3 separate regions of the Homo sapiens genome follow, and all the other regions are linked to region 1. The links are contacts of gene promoters, found by promoter capture Hi-C in blood cells and fetal thymus (Javierre and others, 2016). All regions are on one chromosome and are shown on one strand. Each heading gives the region's core, a stretch centred on a gene start or on the middle of the fragment in contact. The rest is flanking DNA. Distances are from core to core; before and after follow the strand shown.

Evidence for each region. Contacts are between HindIII fragments. The CHiCAGO score rates a contact against its expected background, and 5 or more counts as called.
Region 2: a fragment that was not itself captured here is called in contact with the fragment with the promoter of EEF1E1 in region 1 in 1 of 17 cell types (total CD8 T cells); the score reaches 5.8 in total CD8 T cells.
Region 3: a fragment that was not itself captured here is called in contact with the fragment with the promoter of EEF1E1 in region 1 in 1 of 17 cell types (naive CD8 T cells); the score reaches 5.1 in naive CD8 T cells.

The regions. Positions count from the first base shown.
Region 1 is chr6:8,100,725-8,104,330 of GRCh38, forward strand. It overlaps EEF1E1 (eukaryotic translation elongation factor 1 epsilon 1), which reads right to left and starts at 1,824. Exons shown (of 4, transcript NM_004280.5): 1 at 1,711-1,824. The coding sequence starts at 1,797. EEF1E1-BLOC1S5 (EEF1E1-BLOC1S5 readthrough (NMD candidate)) reads right to left here and starts at 1,871. Exons shown (of 7, transcript NR_037618.1): 1 at 1,711-1,871. RefSeq lists silencers at 1,223-1,408, 1,617-1,736, 1,877-2,076. The HindIII fragment of the contact is 8,997 bases long and covers 1-3,606 here.
Region 2 is chr6:7,312,667-7,316,662 of GRCh38, forward strand. SSR1 (signal sequence receptor subunit 1) reads right to left here and starts at 533. Exons shown (of 8, transcript NM_003144.5): 1 at 376-533. The coding sequence starts at 454. RefSeq lists enhancers at 1-565, 566-1,432, 769-838, 849-908 and silencers at 1-38, 169-278. The HindIII fragment of the contact is 700 bases long and covers 1,667-2,366 here.
Region 3 is chr6:7,283,159-7,286,800 of GRCh38, forward strand. SSR1 (signal sequence receptor subunit 1) reads right to left here. Exons shown (of 8, transcript NM_003144.5): 8 at 1-3,642. Among named protein-coding and RNA genes, the nearest start is that of SSR1, 28 kb to the right of the region's middle. The HindIII fragment of the contact is 3,708 bases long and covers 539-3,642 here.

The DNA of each region.
Region 1 (3,606 bases), core at 574-3,073:
AACATATTTTCATACTTTCTCTAATAAATCTGCTTTTCTTTACGTACAGCTGTCCTGGTAAATTCTTACCCTGGCGCCACCAGCCCCAGAGAGTTGCTGCTCACCCACGACAGTCCATGAAGTGCTTACTATGTTGTGCTTTAAATTATTTGCTGATGATTGTTTCTCATACTAGATAATACTCATATCTTGGCAATGGTCCCTAAAAAATATAAACTAGGCCAGGCACAGTGGTTCACGCCTGTAATCCCAGCACTTTAGGAGGCCAGGGCATGTGGATCACCTGAGGTCACCAGTTCAAGACCAGCCTGGCCAACATGGTGCAACCCGGTCTCTACTAAAAATACAAAAATTAGCTGAGCGTGGTGGCGAACACCTGTAACCCCAGCTACTTGGGAGGCTGAAGCAGAAGAATCGCTTGAACCCGGGAGGCAGAGGTTGCAGTGATCCGAGATCATGCCATGGCACTACAGCCTGGGCGACACAGTGAGACTTTGTCTCAAAAAAAAAAAAAAAAAAATATATATATATATATATATATATATATATATATATATATGGCACTCTTCCAATTTAAACGGTTGCAATGTTTGTCCACTCGGCCATATATATTATATTTATACTACATATATATTATATAATATATACACTAAGCTAGGGAGTAGGGGCCGAAGGGACGGAATTATCACTGGGGCAGAGGAAACACCAAAAGAAGGCCACTTTGGCTCCAACGCCTACTCTGCCACCAATCACAGGGCTGATCTTAGGCTGAACACTTAACCTTTCTAGGCTTCAGGTTAACTTAAATAAAAACTATACTACTACTTTCTAGACAAGATCTTCACATGGACCAAATGAAGAAGAGAAAAAATTAAAGACAAAAACCAAACATCATTTGGAAAAAATCTCAAAGGAGCAAAAAAAACATATATCCAAAGTAGTCTTCCTACAACCAATTTCCTTCTCTAATACATTCCTTCTACGACAAACAACTATAAAACACAAACGTTCTAACAGTGCCTAACCAGGCAATCTCATACCTTGTGATGTTTCCCGCATTCACTGTGGGTCGTAACACTTAAACTGATAATCCAAGGCTTTAGAAACGCCTTCCCCGAATCCCCTAGATTGGGCCAAGACTCCTTAGGTGTTCTCTCTGCCATTTATGGTGCAACGTGGCACTCTTCCAATTTAAATGGTTGCAATGTTTGTCCACCTGGCCAAAAAGCAAGCTGCCTGAGAGGAGGAAGCATGTTCCCCTAAATCATCATTGTATTCCCCAGACCCAGCACGGTGCTACCTGGCACCCTGTTAGCTATAACGGAGTCGCTGCGCAATAACTGAATGAAAGGTGCGATTACGGGAAAAAAAAAAAAGCCAGTTACTGAATACATTCCAGGTTGGTCTAAGAGCCCTGTGAGGACCCTCCTCCAACTGGTTTTGTTTCCTCATAATGGGATGATGACAATTTCCCAGGAGGTGAAGTTCAGGCCAAGCCCAACCTGAGCTGGTTAACCCCTCCCTCCAGGAGGTAGGATGGCAGGGGCCGAGGCCCAGAGGCGCCAGCCGGCTAGCGGCGCAGACACGTGGGGAGCTGGGTAGCAGCATCCTCACTCCGCCCGTATCTGGTGGCCGGCCCGGGTCCTGCCAGGGCTCGGCAGGCCCCGCTCCCGTCCACCTCTTCCCCTCCGCGCCGCCTCTCCTTCTCACCTGTCGCTCGCCCTGAGCACTGTATTTATTCCCCTTACTCAGTCCCAGGGACTTCTCCAGTAGCGACAACTCTGCGGCCGCCGCCATCTTCCGGCCGTAGCTCCTGGCAGACGCGAGACCTGCAGAACAAGAACCTCCCGCATTGGTGGAAACAGAAGTCCCACTCCTGCAAACTTCAGCGGCGATTGGCTGAACGGAAGGGGCGTGGAGAGCGCGCGCCAAAGCACAGGAGGCGGGGCCGGTGGAAGGGGCGGGGCTGAGGGCGGGGTGTGAGACAGGTGGAGAAGTGATGGTAAATTTCCACTCGAACTGTTGGGGAGCTAGTTACTGGTAGAAAGGCCCCAAGGCCGGGCTTCGGTGGCTGCAGTAGACTGGATCTGGATCTCTAAATGGCAATCTATTGACATGGCTGCCAGCGGTAACTCGTTAACTCATTTGCTAGTCTAAGAGAATTTATATATGATGGGAACTGAAATTTGCCTTAGTTTGGTTCAGGAATCTGTAAATTTGAACAATCAAATTGAATAGCAAAAAGTTCACAGTCCATTAGGAGTTTCTAACGTGTAGCATAATTCATGAGGATTTTAATTGTGTTGTAGTGGTGAATTCGAAAAACTGGTTTTTCTACTGTTGATCTACAGCTCAACACTAGCAGTAGAATTATACATTTAAAGATTATTCACAGAACACGGAGTATGTCAGATAGGGGTCAAATAATTACAGCTCAAGGAAATAAGCCATTAATGGCATTAATGATCTTTTTTTGCAGTACCAGAAGGCTGGTTACATAATTTATGAAGTTTTGGTATATAAATAAACAAGGTGCATAACTTTGCCCCACTAACTTGCTACATTCTTGTATCTTCAAAAAAGAAAGAAAGGAAGAAAGAAAGAAAATTAGTAGTATATGTTGAATATTTCCAAAAGATTTGTGAAAATACAAAATATTTTCCACTTTGAAGAATGAATAAACAAAGTGTGTATTAGTCTGAGAGAAATAGAACAATCCTACAAGGTAACTCATCATTGAATCAGAAATATCAAAGTTTAGTGGGGAATGTTGTTACTGTGTTACACCTTCCCTATCCCAGAATACTTAATGAGTTTACTCTGTCAGCAGAAGTAAACATAAGGAAAAGAAACTTTTGCCAAATCAACATAACAAAATACAAAAGAAATTTCAGTATAAGTGGATTGTTAGGCACTAAATTATCTGTTTTACTTTCCATATTCAGATAATGGAATGACTATTCTACTACTTTTTAAAAGACCAACCCTCTAAGATAATTCACATATCCATTTTCAGGGTTTAGGTACACTTTTTGCTTGTAATAAAACATTTTTTAAAAAAATTAACATTTATCCAATGCCAATGGGTGGTATATTGAAAATAAGGTTTGGCCTTTGCATAATTATAGAAATATCAAATTAAAAAAGAAATCCCTAAAAAACTGAAAGCAGAACAAAGCATATTGTACATCAAATTGATGACATCATCACCCAGTGTGGACCTCTTTTAAGTGACTTTATAGCACAGTCATTTAATTGTATACTCTTAGTAAGATATGCTTTAAGGACAAAATTCATGAAAACCTGTTTTTGGTTCTTTTTGTTTGTTGGTTTGGTTAGCATCTTGGCAGTGTCAGCATTGGTATGGTGCTGTATATGTACTGTGGAATAAAGCAAAGATGCAATCATGTGGTGTTGCTGGAAAGTTGGGTGTTTGGTGTTGCCCAAAAGAGGAGTTGTAAGGTAGATGAGGTTAAATCAAAACTTTCTGGTCCTGAATTTGAATTGTAATATCAATATGAACTTATGACGCTTTTATCTTAAGGAAAATGAAAAGTATTTCCTACCTAGCTCTGTTTACTTAAAAGGCCTAGAAACAAGGACAAC
Region 2 (3,996 bases), core at 767-3,266, 790 kb before region 1:
AGCCCGGCTGCGGCGCGCTCGGAGCGCAGCCGTGTCCAGCGCCTCCTCCTGCAGCCGAGGACCCTCCAGTTCTGGCCGCTCCTGCAGGCGAGGGTCCAGGGCAAGAGGAGCAAGCCCAGCCCTCGGCCGGCCACGAAGCAAGGTCGCCCGGGCACGGCCCCGCGCTCCGCGTGCAAGGGGCAGGCCGCAGCGGGGTCTCCAGCGCCCGCGGGGACCCCTGCTGCTACGAGCCTAGGCTTGGGGAGAGGGCGGAGAGAGGCCAGCGGGGTGGACGCGGACCCCAGGACCCGGAGCGGCCACCGCCTCCAACTTCAAACTTGCCATCACTGGCATCTCCTTCCTGGCCATCCCCTCCGCACACTCCCCCAGCCTCACCTCTGGGGCCGCCTCGGAACAAGACAGTGGCAGGGAACACGAGTAAGAGAAGCAGCAGCAAGCGGGGGAGGAGTCTCATGGCGCTGCCGGTCCAGTGTCCAGTTTCCGTCGGCTAAGGCTCTCGGCGGCTCCGGCGGTAATGGCGTTACTCTTCATCCGGGCTCCGGGCAGCGAGGGGCGGGACACGTACCGCGCACGGGCCTTTGCCACGCCCCTCCCTGGACCAGGGACCGCCGCCGACGTGGCTGCTCAGCGCGGAGAGGTGGGGAGAGCAGGCCACCGGGAAGTCACGTGGCCGGCTGCTGCCTCTTTGTGGCTCCCGCGAGAGTCCGCCTTCCGCCGCAGTTGCGACCCGGCAGCTTGCGGTTAGCCGTTCTTTCCGCCCAGTTCTTTACTTCCAATTAATTAGCATTGTCAGTGGTTACTTTATTTGAATGACGATCCTCTTGATAACGGCGATGTAAGGAACATGAGCTGCCTTTATGTGGCACTTAAAAGCAAAAAATTTTGTTGGAAGAGAGGACATTGTTCAAAGGAAAAACCATGAAAATACACAGTGGAAAATCTTTGTCCCCTGTCTGCCCACACCCTCTCCCATGGTTAAGTAATGACAATTCTTAAATTATTATTTTTGAGACGAAGTCTTGCTCTGTCGCCCAGGCCAGAGTTCAGTGGCACCATCTCTGTTCACCGCAACCTCCGCCTCCCGGGTTCAAGCGATTCTCCCGCCTCAGCCTCCTAAGCAGCTGGGACTACAGGCGCGCACCACTACGCCCGGCTAATTTTTGTATTTTTACTGGAGACGGGGGTTTCACCATGTTGGCCAGACTAATCTCAAACTCCTGACCTCAGGTGATCCACCCGCCTGGGTCTCTCAAAGTGCTGGGATTACAGGTGTGAGCCACTGCGCCTGGCCAGCAATTCTTAAATTCGTATGTGACATTCCAGAATTATAAGTCACCTAAACAGTGTTTTGGTATGTAGTCAGCATTTGTAACTATACAATAGGTGCAGCAATGGCTGTCCAGTTTTCTTTAGTTTCCTTTTCATCTATTTTGGATTTGAGTTGCTGGAGTAATATAGCAGTTCATGAAATTAATCTGAATATTAAGTAATCTTGGTCTGGACCAGAGTGAGATGTCATAAAGATGAGGAAATAAATCATATGCTTACTATTGTCAATCACCTCCTTAGAGCTGTGCTTTTTCATTTAATTTTCTAAACCTCTCTATGAGCTGGATATTATTTACTGAGGAGAAAACAGACCCAGAGAGGTTAGTAATTTACTCAAAGCTTCAAAACGCTAGCAAACGGCAGATGCAAGATTTGAACAAGGCTATCTGGTTCCAGATTCCATACACTACTGACCTAGGACATTTGCTGTTCTACTCCTGCATTGTTTCCGCTTCAGGTCTCCTTGTCCTGGGGGCTGTAAATGCAGCTTGGACCCACTGCCACCACTACCTACAGTCTGCTAAAGTCACAGCCTGATGGTGCTGGGCTGAATCAACCAAATTCCACTCTGCCAGGCCACCAGTGGCACCGCTGCTGTGTTGCTGCTGCTACTAGGGCGCCCAGCATAAGTGGAGGGCCTCCTCTCACTTTGCTGCTGCCTCTGCTCCTGTGCACGCTACCAGTGTTGCCACTCTATGTCAGAGCTGTGTCTGGAATAGGGTTCTTGGTCTCACTGACTTTAAGACTGAAACCGCAGACCCTCGTGCTGAGTGTTACAGTTCTTAAAGTCCAGAGTTTGTTCCTTCATCATGTTCGGATGTGTTCCGAGTTTCTTCCTTCTGGTGGGTTCATGGTCTCACTGGCTCAGGAGTGAAGCTACTAGACCATCGCAGTGAGTGTTACAGCTGTTAAGGTGTCCATTCCTCCTGGTGGGTTCATAGTCTCGGTGGCTTTAGGAGTGAAGCTGCAGACCTTCGCGGTGAGTGTTACAGCTCATAAAGGCAGTGAGCAGCAGCAAGATTTATTGCAAAAAACAAAGCTTCTGAGAGGTGACAGCATGCTGGCAGTACTCAGCCCTCGCTCGCTCTCGGCGCCTCCTCTGCCTGGGCCCCCACTTTGGTGGCACTTGAGGAGCTCTTCAGCCCACCGCTGCACTGTGGGAGCCCCTTTCTGGGCTGGCCAAGGCCGGAGCCAGCTCCCTCAGCTTGCCGGGAAGGTGTGGAGAGAGGCGTGGGCGGGCGGGAACTGGGGTTACGCGCGGTGCTTGCCAGCCAGTGCGAGTTCCGGGTGGGCGTGGGCTTGGCGGGCCCTGCAGTGGGAGCGGCCAACTGGGCCAGGCGGGGGGCAGTGAGGGGCTTAGAACCTGGGCCAGCAGCTGCTGTGCTCGATTTCTCACCGGGCCTTAGCTGCCTTCCCGCGGGGCAGGGCTCGGGACCTGCAGCCCACCATGTCTGAGCCTCCCCCAACCCCATGGGCTTCTGTGCAGCCGGAATCTCCCCGACCAGCGCCACCCCCTGCTGCACGGTGCCCAGTTCCTTCCACCACCCAAGGGCTGATCAGTACAGGTGCACAGGCATGGGACTGGCAGACAGCTCCACCTGCAGCCCCAGTACGGGTTCCACGGGGTGAAGCCAGCTGGGCTTCTGAGTCTGGTGGAGACGTGGAGAACCTTTATGTCTAGCTCAGGGATTGTAAACACACCAATCAGCACCCTGTGTCTAGCTCAGGCTTTGTGAATGCACCAATCGACACTTTGTATCTAGCTACTCTGGTGGGACCTTGGAGAACCTTTGCGTCCACGCTCTGTATCTAGCTAATCTAGTGGGGACGTGGAGAACCTTTGTGTCTAGCTCAGGGATTGTAAACGCACCAATCAGTGCCCAGTCAAAACAGGCCACTCGGCTCTACCAATCAGCAGGGTGTGGGTGGGGCCAGATAAGAATAAAAGCAGGCTGCCCTGAGCTTAGCAGCGACAACAGGCTCCAGTTTCTTTCCATGCTGGGAAAATATCTGTTCTTTTGCTCTTTAAGCTCATATTGCCTTTATGAGTTATAACACTCATTATGAAGGTCTGCAGCTTCGCTCCTGAAGCTAGGGAAATCACGAACCCGCCAGGAAGAATGAATAACTCAAGATATGCCACCTTAAGAGCTGTAACGCTCACTGTGGAGGTCTGTGGGTTTACTCTTGGGCTAGTGAGATTACAAGCCCACCAGAAGGAAGAAACTCCGGATACACTGCCTTTAAGAACTGTAGTACTCACTGTGAGGGTCTGTAGCTTCATTCTTTAAGTCAGGGAGGCTAATGAGCCCCCAATTCTGGACACTGGAGTGGGACCTGAGCAGGTTGCCACTGATTCAGGCAGCCTGCTTTTTTTTCCGTTTATTTGGCTTCACATTCTGCTGGTTGGTTTATTTTAGAGCTGATTGGTGTGTTTTCAATTGGTGAGCTAGACACAAAGTTCTCCATGTCCCCACTGGGTTAGCTATACACAGAGTGTCAATTGGTGTGTTCACAAACCCTGGGCTAGACACAGTGCTGATTGGTACATTCACAATCCCTTAGTTAGACATTCTCCAAATCCCCACCAGATTAGAGTGCCAATTGGTGCATTCACAAACCCTGAGCTAGATACAGTGTGCTGATTGGTGTGTTTATAAACCTTGA
Region 3 (3,642 bases), core at 1,143-3,642, 820 kb before region 1:
AACCTCCTCCTCCTGGGTTCAAGTGATTCTCCTGCCTCAGCCTCATGAGTAGCTGGGATTACAGGCGTGCACCACCTCGCTCGGCTAATTGTTTTTGTTCTTTTTTGAGATGGAGTCTCGTTCTATCTCCCAGGCTGGAGTGCAGTGGCACGATCTCAGCTCACCACAATCTCCACCTCCCAGGTTTAAGCAATTCTCCTGCCTCAGCCTCCCAAGTAGCTGGGATTACAGGCATGCACCACCACACCTGGCTAATTTTTGTATTTTTAGTAGAGGCGAGGTTTCACTATGTTCGCCAGGATGGTCTTGAACTCCTGACCTCAGGTGTTCTGCCCACCTTGGCCTCCCAAAGTGTTGGGATTACAGGTGTGAGCCACCGTGCCCGGCCTTTTTGTATTTTTTAGTAGAGATGGGGTTTCACCATGTTGGCCAGGCTGGTCTTGAACTCCTGACCTAAAGTGATCCACCCACCTCAGCCTCCCAAAGTGCTGGAATTACAGGAGTGAGCCACCATGCCCTGCCCAGTCTTTATAAATGAAGCTTGACTCTGGACTGTGATAGCAGAAACAAATACAGGCAGTGCCTCAGAGAATACAAAATATCAAGCAAATCCTAAGTGTTGAAGCTAGAACCCAGGTGAGTGCACTCTGCATTACTGAGAATGTGCTCCCTGCCAAAAGGCTCCTACCCTATTCCAACCAAGCCGGAAATGGCAACAGACCAAACGTGAGGAGTGAGTGCCTCTGTGCTCCTTGAGGCTGTTTCATTACAGATAACAAGGTTACCTAGGGCAGTTGTGAAGATGAAATGAGGATGTGTGTGGAAGGGCAGAGCAGATGCTTGATGTTCTCCATCTGAACACTACTCTTGACCACAGTATTTCTCATTCTCCTTTCTGAAATGCCTCTAGGCCTTAAGCGCCTATTTCTATAAATGTTGGGTGATCAGACCAATATGGTTTCTGAAAAAACTGTTCAGAAATAGACTAATTTTCTTTGGGTGGTTCAGTCTGATGCTGAAATAAATTGCAAGATGATTTTCAAAAATAACATGAACCCCAACAGCTTCACTGAGAAATATGGAGCCTCTTCAAACGTGTTTTTAAAAAGAACTGGATGTGCAGGTGTAAGAGATTTATTACAAAACAAAAACTCCCCTTGCCAGCCTTATTACTCTGGCTCATCATTAAAATCCAGTGCTAGCCATATTACATGCCCATCTTAAAACTTTTATCCTTTAGTTACAAAAAGAATACTATGTAGCTTACATATTCAGAATTTACCTACTACCCCACCACATCAAAGTCCATAAGGTACCATATACTCTTCCCCGCCCCATGCTTCATGGGATGTTATTACAGTATGGTGCTTTACAGCGAAAATGAGAGCAGTCACTTAAGCGGCTTACTGAGACCCAGGCAATGTTCTAAGCAGCTACACACAGTAACTCCTAACAACCTTAGGAGGCAGGAACCAAAAGCTGAAGCATCATACAACTTGCCTCCAACTAAGAGGGGATCTGGGGTTCAAACCCAGGCAGCCTGACATGAGCGTTTCCTTTTTTTTTTTTTCTCTTTTGCTAAGTAAAAAGTAGGTTTAAGGGAAGAATCATTTATAGTAACACTGAATTAAGTAAGGGTTTGTAGGTCACAGAATCAGACTATTTAGGGCTGATACTTCAAGCATATCTCAATTAACAAAAAAGCACATTGAGACTCCAAGGATGAACTGCCTTTGCTTAGTGGCCAGGGCACTGTCAAGACCCAGAGGTCTCCTAATTCCCACGCTAGCACACCATACCACCCCTTTGTTCAACCTCACAGAATTGCCAATACTAGCGTATCACCAGGAATACTTACGAACCATACTAACTCACATGGAAGAATGGCAAATGAAAACTGGCCCACATTTTCTTGTTCCTTCTTCAAAGAGTAATAGGGTTCTACCTAATTGTGAACTAGAAGCTGGGGATGAAAAACAAGCCAGATACAGAGCTCACAGTCCAGAAGGAGATGTCAACAAGATGACAGGCTGCCATGGGTACTGACAGAAGTCTACATAAGGGACAGCAGGGGAACAAAAAAAGGCACAGTCAAAACATCTTTGACTGCAATTTGGAGACTTTAAACAAGGATTATCCTTTCTACAGGCATACTGAATTTTCTTTTTAATGCCTCACTGTGCCTATTAAGCAAAATCCGTAATACAACACACCAGACAGAAGCCTTACCCTGTGAGCCGGGCGCAGTGGCTCACGCCTGTAAGCCTGACACTTTGTGAGGCCAAGGTGGGTGAATCACTTGAGCTCAGGAGTTCGAGACCAGCCTGGCAACATGGTGAAACCCCGTCTCTACCAAAAACAAAACAAAAACATTAGCCAGGCCTGTGGTGTGCGCCTGTGGTCCCAAATACTTGGAAAGCTGAAGCAGGAGAATCGCTTGAGCCCAAGAGGCAGAGGCTGCCGTGAGCTGAGATCATGCCACTGCATTCCAGCCTGGGCAATACAGTGAGACCCCATGTCAAAAAAAAAAAGAAAAAGAAAAAGAAAAAAGATAAAAGCAGCTTTACCCTGTAATCTTAGTTCTAGTACTATCTGGTTCTGTAACCCAAGAGCAGATACTTCACTCTTACCTTTAACGTGAAGATTTATCTTTCAATCCTTTAGAGCTTGAAAATGCAATCAACCCATGAAAATGTTTTTAAAGACCATGATTCTGTTCATCAAGGAGACATTTAAAGGTATGTCATTAACAGAAATTTAAAAGGGTATTGTGGGTAACTGAATTATCATAGATACAATACAGCAAGTATATATGGTATATTCATTACTGAGATGATTTGAACTTTCCATATTCAATATGGAACCTTGAGCAAGCTACTTAAATTCAGGTTTTGTCTATTCCATCTACAAAATGGGAACAGTATCACCTTCCTTCAGTGAGCTGTCGTAAAGGTGTGTGATATGATGACTAGAAAACAAACAGAACACAGCACGTGATTGATGTTTAATAAATGAGTTCCCTTCCCCCTTTCTTAAACTGCAGCAAAGTGGTACCCAAACCTAAGAGCTATTATCCCTAAATTTCAAAATCTAAAAAAAAAACCTTAGAACCTCAGATGATATAATTAACATAAAAGCCCAGGTTTTTGTATAAATGAAAAGGGATAAAAATTCATACAAAATCCATTAGTAACATTCATAAGCACCCGAAATAAATTATTTAGATGTTTGCAAGTCAGCTGCAAGGTGTTCTTCCTCCTCAAATATCCTCTAAGGATGAGCTTATAGACAGATTAACTTAACAACGAAACCTAACATTCCACCAGTAAGAATCTTGTTTGTGTGTGAAGCTGCTTTTTACTAAGTTGGAGGTAAGAGCTCAAAGTAGAGTTTTACTTAAGAAAATTGGGGCAAACATTGATTTTAGTTCTACAGCTATAAAATGATGCCATTCAAAAAGTGAACAGTGGGCCGGGCACAGTGGCTCACGCCTGTAATCCCAGCACACTTTGGGAGGCCAAGGCAGGCGTATCACCTGTGGTCAGGAGTTCAAGACCAGCCTGGCCAAATGACGAAACCCCGTCTCTACTAAAAATGCAAAAATTAGGCAGGTGCGGTGACGGGCGCCTGTAATCCAAGCTA